Regions from separate parts of the Homo sapiens genome. Here regions 1 and 3 are each linked to region 2. The links are contacts of gene promoters, found by promoter capture Hi-C in human tissues and cell types (Jung and others, 2019). All regions are on one chromosome and are shown on one strand. Each heading gives the region's core, a stretch centred on a gene start or on the middle of the fragment in contact. The rest is flanking DNA. Distances are from core to core; before and after follow the strand shown.

Region 1 (4,549 bases), core at 372-2,871, 640 kb after region 2:
GGGAGCTGGAGAGCAACCTGGACATCCCACTCCTCTCCAAATGGAGGGATGTCCTAAGGTTTTGTACCCAACTGGCTACGAAAATGTAAATACCCAGGTACAGTACATATGATTCCTTAGATTAAGAGATATTCTCAGTCATAAAAAAGTGATACTAAAAAATAAAGGATGAGTATAACTACTCGTATAGGAAGCTTCCTAAAATTCACTTAGGCAAAATATATATATATTCGAGGGTCTCCTAGATATAGGGCACTGCGCTTAATACCAAGAAAGAAATAAAGATGGGCAAGATAAAGAAAACATTCTCAAGGTACATGTGAAACTGAAGAATGTCTCTAAGCAGACACTTCATGATTATGTGTGGCTTTCTCCATCTCCATTTGATGCAGTCACTATTCTATTTGCTGTCTTGTAACTATGTATTCTCCTACTCTTTCCATTATTTCAGACTTCATTGGCTCCCTGAATGGTTCCTCGTATCACCTATATTTATGCCTATAAACTGAGTCTCATTAACTTAAATTATTTTGGAAGCATTACATCTTCTGTTCTACATCATCAGTTGCCTGCTGTTTTTTGTTACTTTATTTAAAAAACTGGAAGCAGGTGAAGGAATCTGCCCATTCTTGAAATTACTTTGTATTGGACATAAGTTGGCACTGGACTTTTTTTTTTCCTTTTTTTTTATTATTACACTTTAAGTTCTAGGGTACATGTGCACAACGTGCAGGCTTGTTACATACGTATACACGCGCCATGTTAGTGTGCTGCACCCATTAACTCGTCATTTATATTAGGTATATCTCCTAATGCTATTCCTCTCCCCTCCCCCAACCCCATGACAGGCCCCGGTGTGTGATGTTCCCCTTCCTGTGTCCAAGTGTTCTCATTGTTCAATTCCCACCTATGAGTGAGAACATGCAGTGTTTGGTTTTTTGTCCTTGCAACAGTTTGCTGAGAATGATGGTTTCCAGCTTCATCCATGTCCCTACAAAGGACATGAACTCATCCTTTTTTATGGCTGCATAGTATTCCATGGTGTATATGTGCCACATTTTCTTAATCCAGTCTATCATTGATGGACATTTGGGTTAGTTCCAAGTATTTGCTATTGTAAATAGTGCTGCAATAAACGTGCATGTGTCTTTATAGCAGCATGATTTATAATCCTTTGGGTATATATCCAGTAATGGGATGGCTGGATCAAATGGTATTTCTAGTTCTAGATCCTTGAGGAATCTAGAAGGCACAGGACTTTTAAATAATAGTGTTCCTGAAATTAGTGACCACAATTTTCTAATAGCCATGTCCTTCTTATATTATTGCTATCATGTAAAGGAGACTTCCTTTGAATTCATTAAACAATGTGTTTAAATGAAGAAAAAAATACTAAAATAAAATTGGAGAAGTCCTTTTCCACACTGAAAAATTCTAAGTAACTAAATGGTATACGTCAAACGTACTAAAATAACAAAAGTATCTTTTGCTTATGCAGAAACACTGCATCAAAATATACGCCTAACACAAAGACTCTCTTAAGAAGCTACTGTTTGCCAGAGCAATCAGGCAAGAGAAAGAAATAAAAGGCATTCAAATAGGAAAAAAGAAAAAAGCCAAATTATCTCTCTTCACTGGCAATATGATTATATACCTAGAAGACCCGAAAGACTCCACCAAAAGGCTTCTAGAACTAATAAAAAATTTCAGTAAGTTTCAGGATAAAAAAAAATAAAGGTAGTAAAATCAGTAACATTTCTATATACAAATAACGTCCAAACTGAGAGCTAAATCAAGAATGCAATCCCATTTGCAATGGGCACGCGCGCACACACACACACACACACACACACACACACACACACAAAATACCAAGAAATACATCTAATGAACAAGGTTAAAGATATAAGGAGAACTACAAGACAATGCTGAAAGAAAGCAGAGATGATACAAACAAATGGAAAAACATTCTATGCTCATGGATTGGAAGAATAAATATTGTTAAAATGGTCAAACTACCCAAAGCAATCTATAGATTTAATACTATTCCTATCAAACTACCAATGTCACTTTTCTCAAAATTAGAAAAACAACTACTCTAAAATTCATATAGAACAAAAAAGAGCCTGAAAAGCCAAAGCAATCCCAGGCAAAAAGAACAAAGCTGAGACATTATATTACCTGACTTCAAACTATACTATAAGGCTACAGTAACCAAAACAGCATGGTGCCAGCACAAAAACAGATACAGAGACCAATGGAACAGAAAAGAGAACCCAGAAATAAAGCTGCATATATCTACAACCATCTAATCTTCAACAAAGTCGACAATGACAAGCAATGGGGAAAGGACTCCCTAAACTATAAAAATCCTAGAAGAAAACCTAGGAAATACCATTCTGGACACTGGCCTTGGCAAAGTCCTCAAAAGCAATTGCAACAAAAACAAAATCGACAATTGGGAACTAATTAAAGAGCTTCTGCACAGCAAAAGAGACTATCAACAGAGCAAACAATCTACAGACCTTTGTTGGATGCACAGTTTGTGAATATCTGTAGTGAATATTTTTTGTGAATATTTATAGATTCACAAATATTCACTAACTATGCACCCAACAAATATCTAATATCCAGAATCTATAACGAATTTAAACAATTCAACAAGCAAAAAACAATGCCATTAAAAAGTGGGCAAAAGACATTAACAGACACTTCTCAAAAGAAGACATACAAAGATTAGCCAGGCAAGGTGGCATACACCTGTAGTCCTAGGTACTCTGGCAGGGATAAACAAATTGCTTAATTGCTCCTAACATAACCTCCTTTTTTTTTTTTTAAGAAATCTTTGTTACCTCTGAAAATAACTGGTCAGAAAATTGTAAATATATAAATCTGAGGTTAGGGCACTCTTAATACAGTCTATAGACGGAATATGCCTGTGTATGTATAGAGGAATGCCCTCCATAATGACAAACAGTATGGTTACTGGAAAGAACATAGCTTGAGGGTCAAGCAAAAGCCTGGGTCCATGACTAACTGTGTGACTGAACCTCTATTAGCTTCTGCATGCATAAAATAAGAATAATATGATTGGACCAGATGTGGTGGCTCATACTTGTAATTGCAACATTTTGGCAGGCTGGGATAGGAGGATTGCTTGAAGCCAGGAGTTCAAGACCAGCCTGGGTAACATCGTGGGAACTTATCTCTTAAAAAAAGAAATTTTTTTTAATTAGCCCAACAGTGGCATAACTTATAGTCCCAGCTACTCAGGAGGCTGAGATGGGAGGATCTCTTGAGCCCAGGAGTTCCAGATTATAGTGAGCTATGATTGGACCACTGCACCTGGGCCTGGGTGACCGAGGGAGACTCTGTCTCTAAAATAAATAAATGAACACACAAACTTAATTGTCATAAACTCAACTGTACATATGTATATATGTATGTATGTATGTATGTATTGACTCATGGATTGTTGATAGCACTCAAGTTCCTAGTATACTTTATCTACCTAAAAGCAGAGCAGAGCCCTCCAAAAAACTTCATTTGTCATAAATCTCCTCCCCTGGAGCAACTTAATCTCTTCTAGGACCACTCCCAAACAGATATTGTTACAAAACTATCACATCTCCTGTCTTTTCTCCTAAGGACCACCTTAATTTTCCAAAAAGTCACAAGTGCCCTTCCTTCTGCTCCCATTCTAAGAAGTCATTTGTTCTACAAAATGTGCCCTTCTACAAATTGTGTCCCTCTCCATCCCCATCTCCTACTGAGATGATATATAAGCCACCTTAAGTCACATTTTTTTGCAAACTCCTATATGTACATATGTAATTAAATCTGATTTTTTGTCCTCTTGCTAATCTGCCTTTCGTCAGTTTAAATTGCAGCCCTCTCCCCAAAGAATTTAAGAGAGAAAAGTATTCCTCCCCAACAGTAGCTACTAAAGAGTCTACTCTATTCAACATCACCATATGCTCACCTACTACAAACATTTAGACAAAAACTTAACAACAAGACATATTAGGTCTACATCCATAAAACAACTTATGAAAACAACTTATGAACTTTTTTTTTTTTTTTGAGACTGGGTCTCACTCTGTCACCCAGGCTGGAGTGCAGTGGTGAGATCTGGGCTCACTGCAACCTCTGCCTCCCAGGCTCAAGCAATCCTCCCACCTCAGCCTCCCAAGTAGCTGGGACCACAGGCGTGTGCCATCATGCCCAGCTAATTTTTTTGTATTTTTTTTGGTAGAGACAGGGTTTCACCATGTTGCCCAGGCTGCTCTTGAACTTCTGAGCTCAAGCGATCCGCTGGCCTTGGCCTCCCAAAGTGCTGGGATTATAGGCATGAGCCACTGCATCCAGGCCTATTTCACTTTCTATATCTTTTATATCCTTTCAACAGCAGAAGTTCCATTTGAGTTTTATATAAATTCTAACTCCTTGTTGAGATTATCTATTTGTTGAGTTATTGCTATAACCCTTTCCTTTAATTCTTTATACATAGTTCATTTAGTTCTTAGAACACATTTATAATAGCTGCTTT
Region 2 (4,858 bases), core at 658-3,157:
AAAGACGACAGCATTTCTCTTTTCATTTTTAGGTTACTGGGGATATGTTTCTTGCACTAGGGGAACTGTTACTATTTCGTGCTTTTTAAAATATTTTAATTGTCCTTATTACCATAGTAGTATTTTGATCAGTTCGGGAACTTTGAGAATATCCTATCGCGTGGATTATTACTACTTTGTATCTTTAATACTGTATGGTTAAAGCCCTGCTTTGATTCGTTAGCTTACTGTTACTAAATTTGTTGTTTTCCTGTCACTGTTCCATCATTTCAGGGCCGCCTGGCACATTCATAATACTATTTCCAATATCGAGGTGACATAGTGAACAATAGGTCACGTTAATCTATTGTAATTTTTTATTCTTGCTTTGTATCCCTAATACGTTTCCGTTGCTTGCTCTTCATTTTGATTATACTTTGTCACGCTGTTTCAATAACTTCTTGTTTACCATAACTTGTTATATAATTGTTCTCAAAATTCATGTTAATTTCCCTCACATCCTTATAATACTTCTTGTTATCTAACCACAATTTGTTTTGTTAGGCTTGCTCATAACACTCCAGGTATTATTCTTCAACACACCCCGACAGTATCTTGTTACTTTGTCATTATTTGTAATGTTACAGATCTGAACTCGCTAGTTACTCATCACATCATTACTTCTTGTTATTTTGTCATACTTTGTAATATTGTTGTAGCTCTTAATACTCTGATTATTTTTCATCACATTGGTACAATACTTCTTATTACTCAACCATTATTTATAATGTTCTTGTGACTATTAATACATTGGTCATAAATTGTCATATTACTCCAGCAATTCTTGTTAATATGTCTTTATTTATATTACTATTGCTCCTAAGATTTTAGTTAATATTTCTTTTAATAGTTCACTGTAGTATCAATAATACATTATATTATTATATCACTACCACTAATAGTATTTCCCTTAATAGTATTTTCATTGTTCATCTTTCTCCTACAGTTCGTTTGCTAGTTTCCTACAGTTTGGTAATTTGTTACACTATTACTATATGTTATATTAGTGCAATTGGTTTTAATAAACAGTCCTTACATTGTTCCTCTATTTAGAATTACTTTGTCTTTAATCCTTTTAAAAATTGTGATTACTATTTTCACTTGATTCTGAAAGTGACTATGATTGTATTATTTGGAAGTTCACGTGTTATATCAGTTATGCCGATTAGCCCTTTCTTTGGTAATTGTTCACATTCCAATAATCTTTAATCATCGATCATTATTTATATATAATGTTCCTTGCTTTAATTTTGACTAGTCTATTGCATCAAAGGCTCTGAGTCTAGTGTTCTGATCACTCACATATCTACACGGATTTTCGCTCCAGTACCGGGGCCCTCTTCCTTGGCCTTGCATATTCTGCAAACACCAATTTCCAGGCCACCGCTCCGCCTGTCACGGCCTTGTTCTTAGGGTGCTGGCGCTGTCGATATTTCTATGCTCTTGGATCTCTAGACCCAATTCATCGCGTTACTCAGAGAGGAGGGCTCGTGCCCCAACTACTGGGTGTCGGGCCGAGGCGGCGGCCCGACCCAAGGCACTTCGCGCCGCCTTCCTGCAACTTTGACCGCCCCTGAAGTTCTTCCCCGGGTCGCGTGACTCACCCCTTTCCAGCTCATCCTCCTGTCCGTCCCCGCAGCCTAACCCTGAGCCCCTGTGGCCCCAGCCCCGCACGCCCAGCTCGTCCCCACTCGGCTGGAACCCACACTCACCCTAATTGCGGTGCCGCATGCGGAGGCGCCAGCGGCCCGAGGTCCCCTGCAGGTTCGGGTCCGAGGAGCGCGGGACGGCCGGGGCTCCGACTCCGCGCCGCTGGGTCAGGGTCCAGCTGCCTGCCGTGCCCTCGGGGCTGGACACATCCCGGCTCTGGAGCGGGCCCTTGATCTCCAAGGCTGCACTTTGGGGCCTCAATTCCCTCCTCCTCCCTCCCTCCCTCTGGGGCCGCCCCCCCTCCGCGCTGACGTCGCCGCTGTCAATCAGTCTGCGCCCGCTGTCCCCCGGGGAGGGGGGCTCCAGGGTTCCCCGGCGTCGCGGTCCCCAAGATCCCGAGCCCCACGCGAGCCGCCGGCTCCTCCACCGCGCGGCCCAGTGCCCTCCTCTTGGCCCTCGGGCCCCGCGAGCCGGGTAGGGGCTGGGAGCCCCGCATGGTTTAGATTAGAGAGGCGGGAAGCAAGGGCGAGCAGCCCGGCTCTCAGCCGAGGCTCGACAACCAGGAGGGCTCGCCTGGCCCCGCCGTGCCCGAAGACTAGGACGCTCCACGACCGGGTCTGGCCACCCCCTGCCGGCGCCCGCTTCCAGGCAGCGGCTTCTACGGATCCCCGGCCGCAGAGCCCCGCTCCCCAAGCCCTGCTCCCAGCTGTGCGCGCTGTTCATTTGGGAGCCCCGGTCCCGAGGTCGCAGGCGCACACGCGCCTCACAGGCCCACGCTCCGCTTCCCTACCATGCCCACCACGCGGCCTTGCACTTCCAGGCCCTGGGCACGGCCCTTCTGCTCACCCGCCCTCCTTGTCCCGGCCCAGGGGGCCGCGGGCGCTGGACCCGGCCTGGCGCGCCTCGAAGTCGGCCGCGGAGGTCAGGGGTGAGGACTGGGAGGAAGCCCGGTGGCCGGGTGCGGGGCGGCGGCGGCAGGGAAGTGCTGGGCCGGCCTCTGAGTGGAGCCGAGTCCGGCTCGGGCCTTGACAGAGCCCAGGCCGGGCTGCAAGGTGCCAGGCTTGGCAGAGCCTCCTGGGGAAACTGCGGCCCAGGGCCAGGATTCCGCGGCAGCTCCTTGAGATCCTGGAGAGCTGAAGAGGAAGCCCAATGCCTGCCCTAGTCTAGGAAGTGGAGACTGGGGAGCGTCCTGCTCCCAGCCACCCGGTTCTTTCCGCCTCAGAAACGGAGTCCCGCTCAGCACCTAGACCTCCCTGCCCAGCCTCTGAGCTCTCTGTCTCCACTTACCTCTGTTTCTCTCTGTCTGTACCTCCCACAGGACGCTGCCTTTCCACTAGCAGACGGACCCATGCGGACCCCAGCCCGTGCCCCAGCCTCCCCGCCTGTCACATGCCCAGAATCCTGGGGCAGAAATAGGCCTGCCCACCCATCTGCAAAGACAGCAGAATCCTCATCAATAAGGATCCCCAGAGTGGTCCCTTAGTGCTTAGCATGGGCTGCATCCCTCCCTCCACCAGTGTCCTCAACCAGCCTCTGTCCCTTTCCAGATTCTGACCTCAAAATCAGCTTGAAGGGGAGAGGACAGGGAAATTCTTTTCCTGGATGGGTCTGTCCCTGTTCTAATGCTAGGAAATGGAAAGCCAGCATCAATGCCTTCTTTACCACCCTGCACTCAAAGGTGGAAGCAAAAACGCCAACTCAGAAAAGCCAGTCGCTGCTGCTGTCAGGAGCCTGAAATCCACCTCAACAGTGGGCCGCTGCTCAAGTCCCTATCACCATTGCAGTACCAGGTCCCACCACCCTATCACCATTCCTCTCATGGAGTCTCAAACCAGGGAGGGGAAATAATATCTAAGAGGAGTGGAGGAGCAGAATCCTTCCCCAAACCTGCGGACTCCTGGAATGGAGAAAGGGAAGGCCCTGGCGTTTCAGGAGATGCCTGGGGAGTCGTGTTTCCTGTGTTAGGGAGACCTGGATGACATGCCTCAGCTTCTGCTCGCAAGCCCCCTCCCATGACCTCTCCAACAGCCTGTAGGGAAATCCCTTGCAAATAAATAGTATACAGACTAAGCAACCAACTACTGTGTGGAATGGTGAACAGGGAGGGCAGTGAATCACCAGGTACTATGGGAAGACTAGAGCTAGGCCAGACTCTGGAAAGAATTTGTTGACAGTCATTGGAGGAAGTTCATACTGAGATCGTATCGTATAGTTCTTTAATAAAACAAACAAACAAAAACAAACAAACTAGACTGGAACCTTCCTATAAGTGCAAGGCTTTCTGGAGACTGATGGCAGACAGTCTAAATTAATATCAACAGGTTCATGATGACATGGAGAAATGAGATATGGAAGGGACAGGTAAGCTTTTGGCAGTAAAAAGGAAGGGGCAAACCAGCCAGCAAGTGAGTAAATGAGAGCGGTTCTGTATGCACATTCCCCATTATTAGAATGGAATACCTCATTTAACTGACTCTAAGACACACATTTTTCACATTCTGGTATCTCTGAAACTGAGATGCATCTGATAGCTAGCGGTGTGTCATAGCTTAATTAGCAGCGTTTTTTCTTCTTAGTCGTATGTAAAATAATAGAAAAGCTTATAATGGATGCTGCATAGTATTTGCTGAAAAAGAGCCTGTGTAGAAGAGGAGAAGACCAATTTTTTTTTCTCCAAAACTACTTTGAGGAGTTCAAAATATGAAAACCCTCCTCAACTAGCTAAACAAATAACTGACGGTGCCACACATCGGTCACACTGATTTGGGTTGGCTTGGGGGAAAGTGCTCAGGTTTGGTAGCAGGCTCACCTTGGTTTTGAAACCTAGCTCTGATTCCTGGCTCACCATTTTGCAGCTATGTGACCTTGGGCAAGTTCATTAATGCTCATATAAAATGGGGATAATTACGCCAACCTACTAGCTTATTGTGAGGATTGCCTATATTAATGCATGGTTGATAAAGGCTAGCTCCCAAGTATTTTAAAAATTTATTCTACTTTTCTCTTTTCCGCAAAAGGCTTGAGGTGGTTTATAACCAGAATTAGCTAATAAAAACACAAGTAGAAAAACACATTAGGATCAAGGAAAAAGGAGTAAGCATATATGCTATCACTAAGTGCTGACAAAGTTGCTATAATTGAGAATAAAATCTGGCTTATGAGCCAGCAG
Region 3 (4,909 bases), core at 2,042-4,541, 750 kb after region 2:
AGCCACCACACCCAGCCTCCCCTCTCCTTCTAGAAGCTAAATTCCTTAATTGGGTTATTCACAACTGTCATTATTTTTCATCTAACATTTACCCCAAACCCACTTCAGAATGTCCCTAACACTCCTCCCATTTCTGGTCACCACTAATGGTCACCAATAATCTCTAAGTTGTTCAATCCAATAGATAATTTTCAAGCACATCTTTTTAGACTGCGCAGCAACTAGAACCAATGGTCACCATTTATTCCTTAAAATACTCTCCCTTGGTCTTTCAGGGATAATCCTCTAACTTTTCTTCACTTTCTCTAGTCACTCCTTCACCATTCTCTCTGCTGGAGCATTCTTTTCTACCTAGTCTCTAAATATTGGAGTTACTCAAAACCAATTTCTAAATTTCCATTTCTTACCATATATCCTCTCCTAGGTTAACTCATTCCACCCATTACTTCAACTAGTATCTGCTAGTGACTTCCTCAATATAGAGTTTGGATGTCTCCACAGGAGTGCAAACTCCACTCAAAGATCATGACTTCCTCACCAAGCCTGATTTTCCTCCAGGGTCCCTTATTTTGGTGAAAAGCATCATTACCCCATTGGCAAAGCCAGGAACCACTTTCTTCCTCACCTATACCAGTAAATCTATCCCAAGTCCCTGTGTCTTCCTAAACAGTTCTCTTCATTCCTCTTACACCACCACCACCCTGTCTAAGCTACAACAGCTACTCCAAAAGCATACATGGCTTCCTGCTTCCACCACTGCTCACCAAACTTCACGTAAGAGTTGAACTGCTTCTTTTTTTTTTTTGAGACAGGGTCTCACTCTGTTGTCCAAACTGGAGTACAATGACACAAACATGACTCACTACAGCCTCAACCTCCTGGGCTCGAGGAATCCTCTTGCCTCAGCCTCCCATGTAGCTGGGACCATAGGGACGTGCCACCATGCCTGGCTACTTTTTTAATTTTTTTGTAGAGATGGGATTTCACTCTGTTGCCCAGGCTGGTCTCAAACTTCTGACCTCAAACAGTCCTCCACCTTGGCCTTCCAAAGTGCTGAGATTACAGGTGTGAACCACCAAGCCCAGCCAAAACTGCTCTTTTTTTTTTTTTTTTTTTGAGACGGAGTCTTGCTCTGTCGCCCAGGCTGGAGTGCAGTGGCTCGATCTCGGCTCACTGCAATCCCTACCTCCCAGCCAACTGCTCTTTTTAAAACACCAATAATGACATACCTCTTTACCTCCATCTCCCGTATTAATGACTTCCTATTCTCAAAGATAAAAATCAAAATTATTAAATGGCTAATACATCAGTAATTCTTTAATGCCCATTTTCTTTTGACAGGAATTCACTGTTGCCATGTTAATAGTACATGATTCCATATCCAGCAAAATTCAGAATTATAAACTTATGTACCTAGGGCATAATTATTTTTACACCTGACATTCAAATGGTGTTTTTGGCTGGGCGTGGTGGCTCACGCCTGTAATCCCAACACTTTGGGAGGCTGAGGTGGGCAGATCACTTGAGGTCAGAAGTTCAAGACCAGCCAGGCCAAAATGCTGAAACTAAAATACAAAAATTACTAAAAATACAAAAATTAGCTGGGCGTGATGGTGCATGCTTGTAATCCTAGCTACTGGAGAGGCTGAGGCAAGAGGACTGCTTGAACCCAGGAGGCGGATGTTGCAGTGAGTCAAGATTGTGTCACTATACTCCAGCCTAAGGGACAGAGTGAGACTCTGTCTCATAAATAAATAAATAAGTAAATAAATAAATAAACAAATGGTGTTTTATAAGTTTCTATGTGCTTTTGTGTACATCATCAAATCTGACATATCAATTCTGTTTTATTTATTTTTGAGACGGAATCCTGTTTTTTTGTTGTTCTTGTTTTGTTTTTTGTTCTGTTTTTGTTTTCTTTGAGACGGAGTCTCGCTCTGTCACTAAGGTTAGAGTGTAGTGATGCAGTCTTGGCTCACTGCAACCTCTGCCTCCCAGGTTCAAGCAATTCTCTCCACCTCAGTCTCCCAAGCAGCTGGGATTACAGATGCCCACCACCACACCCAGCTAATTTTTGTATTACTTAGTAAAGATGGGGTTTCACCATGTTGGCCAGGCTGGTCTTGAACTCCTGACCTCAGGTGATCCACCTGCCTCAGCCTCCCAAAGTGCTGGGATTACAGGCGTGAGCCACTGTGCCTGGCCCTGGAATCCTTTTTTATATGCAGAGAGGTCAACTTCATTTTATCATTGGCAAAAACAAGTTAGGTATACTTTACTCATAACTGAATGAGAAATCTTAGGGCTTTTTGATACTCAATCCAATCATCTTTCTACCACAAGTACCATCTTGATCCCAGGTTCAAATGCCACACATAAAACCCCTGAGGTCATAATATATACAAAATCTCCTTTTTCTTATTTTAGATTTCACTTAGTCACTTTCTCTGGATGGTGGTGATACAGCAGATTTCTTTTATTATTATTTCTTTTTGTAAATACAGACAGAGTTTCACTGTGTTGCCCAGACTGGTCTCGAACTCCTGGGCTCAAGCAGTACTCTTGCCTCAACCTCCCAAAGTGCTGGATTACAGGCATAAGCCACCAGGCCTGGCCAGACTTTATTGTTCTTGAACAAAAACCTTAATTTTGTAGAAATGTTATATTATTCCTCAAAGTTATTATACATTTAAGTAAATCCTTTTTCCTTGGCTTTCCTTTCATTTTATATCCTCTATCATAGAATCACTATTTATTTTCTCCACTGCTGCTCTTTTTTTTTTTTTTTTTTTTTTGTGAGACGGAGTCTCGCTCTGTCACCCAGGCCAGTGCAGCGGTGCAATCTCGGCTCAGCTCACTGCAAGCTCTGCCTCCCAGGTTCACACCATTCTTCTGCCTCAGCCTCCCGAGTAGCTGGGACTACAGGCGCCCGTCACCACGCCTGGCTAATTTTTTGTATTTTTAGTAGAGACGGGGTTTTACCGTGTTAGCCAGGATGGTCTCAATCTCCTGACCTCGTGATCTGCCTGCCCCAGCCTCCCAAAGTGCTGGGATTACAGGCGTGAGCCATCGTACCCGGCCTATTTTCTTTACTGGCTTCTTTTTTCTTATTCTACCTCTAAATCTGAACTTTACGGTCTTTCCTATAGAGACATCTAGCATTCTTGCATGGTTTCAGCCAACTACAATGTCCTCCCTTCCTTTGATTCACCCATCCTTCAAAACCTTGTCCAGTCTTAACTTATCTGTGAATCTTCCATGACTGCACTCAGTATACTCTCCCTCCTTAGAAGACTGTTTGCAACTGGTGGGAGGATAGGGATACTGGATTTCTATTCACACCTCAAAAGTCAAGGTGTAAAGTGAAACCGAATCTTTTTTTTTTTTTTTTTTTTTGAGACAGAGTCTCACTCTGTCACCCAGGCTGGAGTGCAGTGGTGCAATCTCAGCTCACTGCAACCTCCACCTCCTGGCTTCAAGCAATTCTCTTGCCTCAGCCTCCCAAGTAGCTGGGATTACGGGCACCTGCCACCATGCCCAGCTTATTTTTTAGTTATTTATTTATTTATTTTGTATTTTTAGTAGAGACGGGGTTTCACCATGTTGGCCAGGCTGGTCTTGAACTCTTGACCTCAGGAGATCCACCTGCCTCGGCCTCCCAAAGCACTGGGATTACAGGCATGAGCCACCACGCCCAGCCAAAACTGAATCTTTCTTCCCAAACCTGCTTCTTTCTTTTCCTTCCTCCCTTCCCTCCTTCCCTCCCTCATTTATTCATTCATTCATTCAGAGGTAGGGTCTTGCCCTGTCACCCAGTCTGAAGCGCAGTGACACAAACACAGCCTGCTGAAGCCTCGACCTCCTGGGCTGAAGCAATCCTCCCACCTCAGCCTCTCGAGTAGGTAGGACTACAGGGACATACCACCATACCCAGCTAATTTTTTAATATTTTTTTGTAGAGATGGGGTTTTGCCATGTTGCCCAGGCTGGTCTTGAACTCCTGGGCTCAAGTGATCTACCCGTCTTGGCCTCCCAAAGTCCTGGGATTACAGGCATGAGCCACCGCGCCCAGCCTTTCAAGTCATTTTTGTACACTCTAAAAGGTAAATAATGATAGGGGCAGAAAATAACATTTCACCTAGAGGGTCCCCTTTGCAAAGATCCTGAGGCATGAAAAGTTCTGTGGCTTTAATGACCTGAAAGGTAAATAGGGTCAGTGCACAGCTGCTAAGGAGAGACAATTAGATGGGAAAAGAAATCAGAGTTTGAGGCATCTGTGGGACATCTATGTGAGGATGTCTAGGAGGCATCTTCAGGTAGCTAAGGGACCCAAGCTTCTAAAGCAATAGAAGCTGATAGCAGCATTTTCTTTTAGAGATGGGGTCTCACTATGTTGCCCAGGCTGGACTGCAGTGGCTGTTCACTGATGCAGTTTCACTACTCATCAGCATGGGAGTTTTAACTGTTTCTGAACTGGGCTGGTTCACCCCTCCTTAGGCAACCTGGTAGTTCCCCACTCCTGGGAAGTCACCATATTGATGCTGAACTTAGTGCAGACACCCAATCGGCATAGCACATTATAGCTCAGAACTCCTGGACTCGAGCGATTCTCCTACCTCAGCCTCCTGAGCAGCTGGGACTACAGGTGCATGCAACTGTGCCCAGCTGTAGCAGCTATTACCTTTGTGTACCTCACACACTTTCTACTCTGTAACTCCCTCTATTCTGGTAACTAATCTTATCCTCCATCAAGCACAGGGATAGGCACATGACCAGCTGAGCAATTCTAGTACTACATCCTTGGCCACAGCAACTATTCCAATAATGGGAGAGTGACTCAGACTGAGCCATCTGGATCTCCTAATGAATACTTTTTCCTCTTTGATTGTATCATATAATCATAAAGGTA

The links. The method cuts DNA at HindIII sites, captures the fragments that hold promoters and counts their contacts. A contact is called where the count stands out against the background at its distance.
Region 1: a contact is called between a fragment that was not itself captured here and the fragment with the promoter of TBX4 in region 2, in 2 of the 25 tissues and cell types used here (lymphoblastoid cells and mesenchymal stem cells).
Region 3: a fragment that was not itself captured here is called in contact with the fragment with the promoter of TBX4 in region 2 in 1 of the 25 tissues and cell types used here (dorsolateral prefrontal cortex).

Annotation. Positions count from the first base shown.
Region 1 is chr17:60,811,587-60,816,135 of GRCh38, reverse strand. All of the region lies in intron 7 of BCAS3 (BCAS3 microtubule associated cell migration factor), which reads right to left. Among named protein-coding and RNA genes, the nearest start is that of BCAS3, 140 kb to the right of the region's middle. The HindIII fragment of the contact is 3,690 bases long and covers 1-3,466 here.
Region 2 is chr17:61,449,471-61,454,328 of GRCh38, reverse strand. It overlaps TBX4 (T-box transcription factor 4), which reads right to left and starts at 1,907. Exons shown (of 9, transcript NM_001321120.2): 1 at 1,752-1,907. LOC124904042 (a long non-coding RNA gene) reads left to right here. Exons shown (of 2, transcript XR_007065872.1): 2 at 1-1,087. RefSeq lists enhancers at 1-295, 1,096-1,937. The HindIII fragment of the contact is 13,471 bases long and covers 1-4,858 here.
Region 3 is chr17:60,696,070-60,700,978 of GRCh38, reverse strand. The region is part of intron 4 of BCAS3 (BCAS3 microtubule associated cell migration factor); the gene reads right to left. It also overlaps the pseudogene RN7SL606P. Among named protein-coding and RNA genes, the nearest start is that of BCAS3, 21 kb to the right of the region's middle. The HindIII fragment of the contact is 6,409 bases long and covers 87-4,909 here.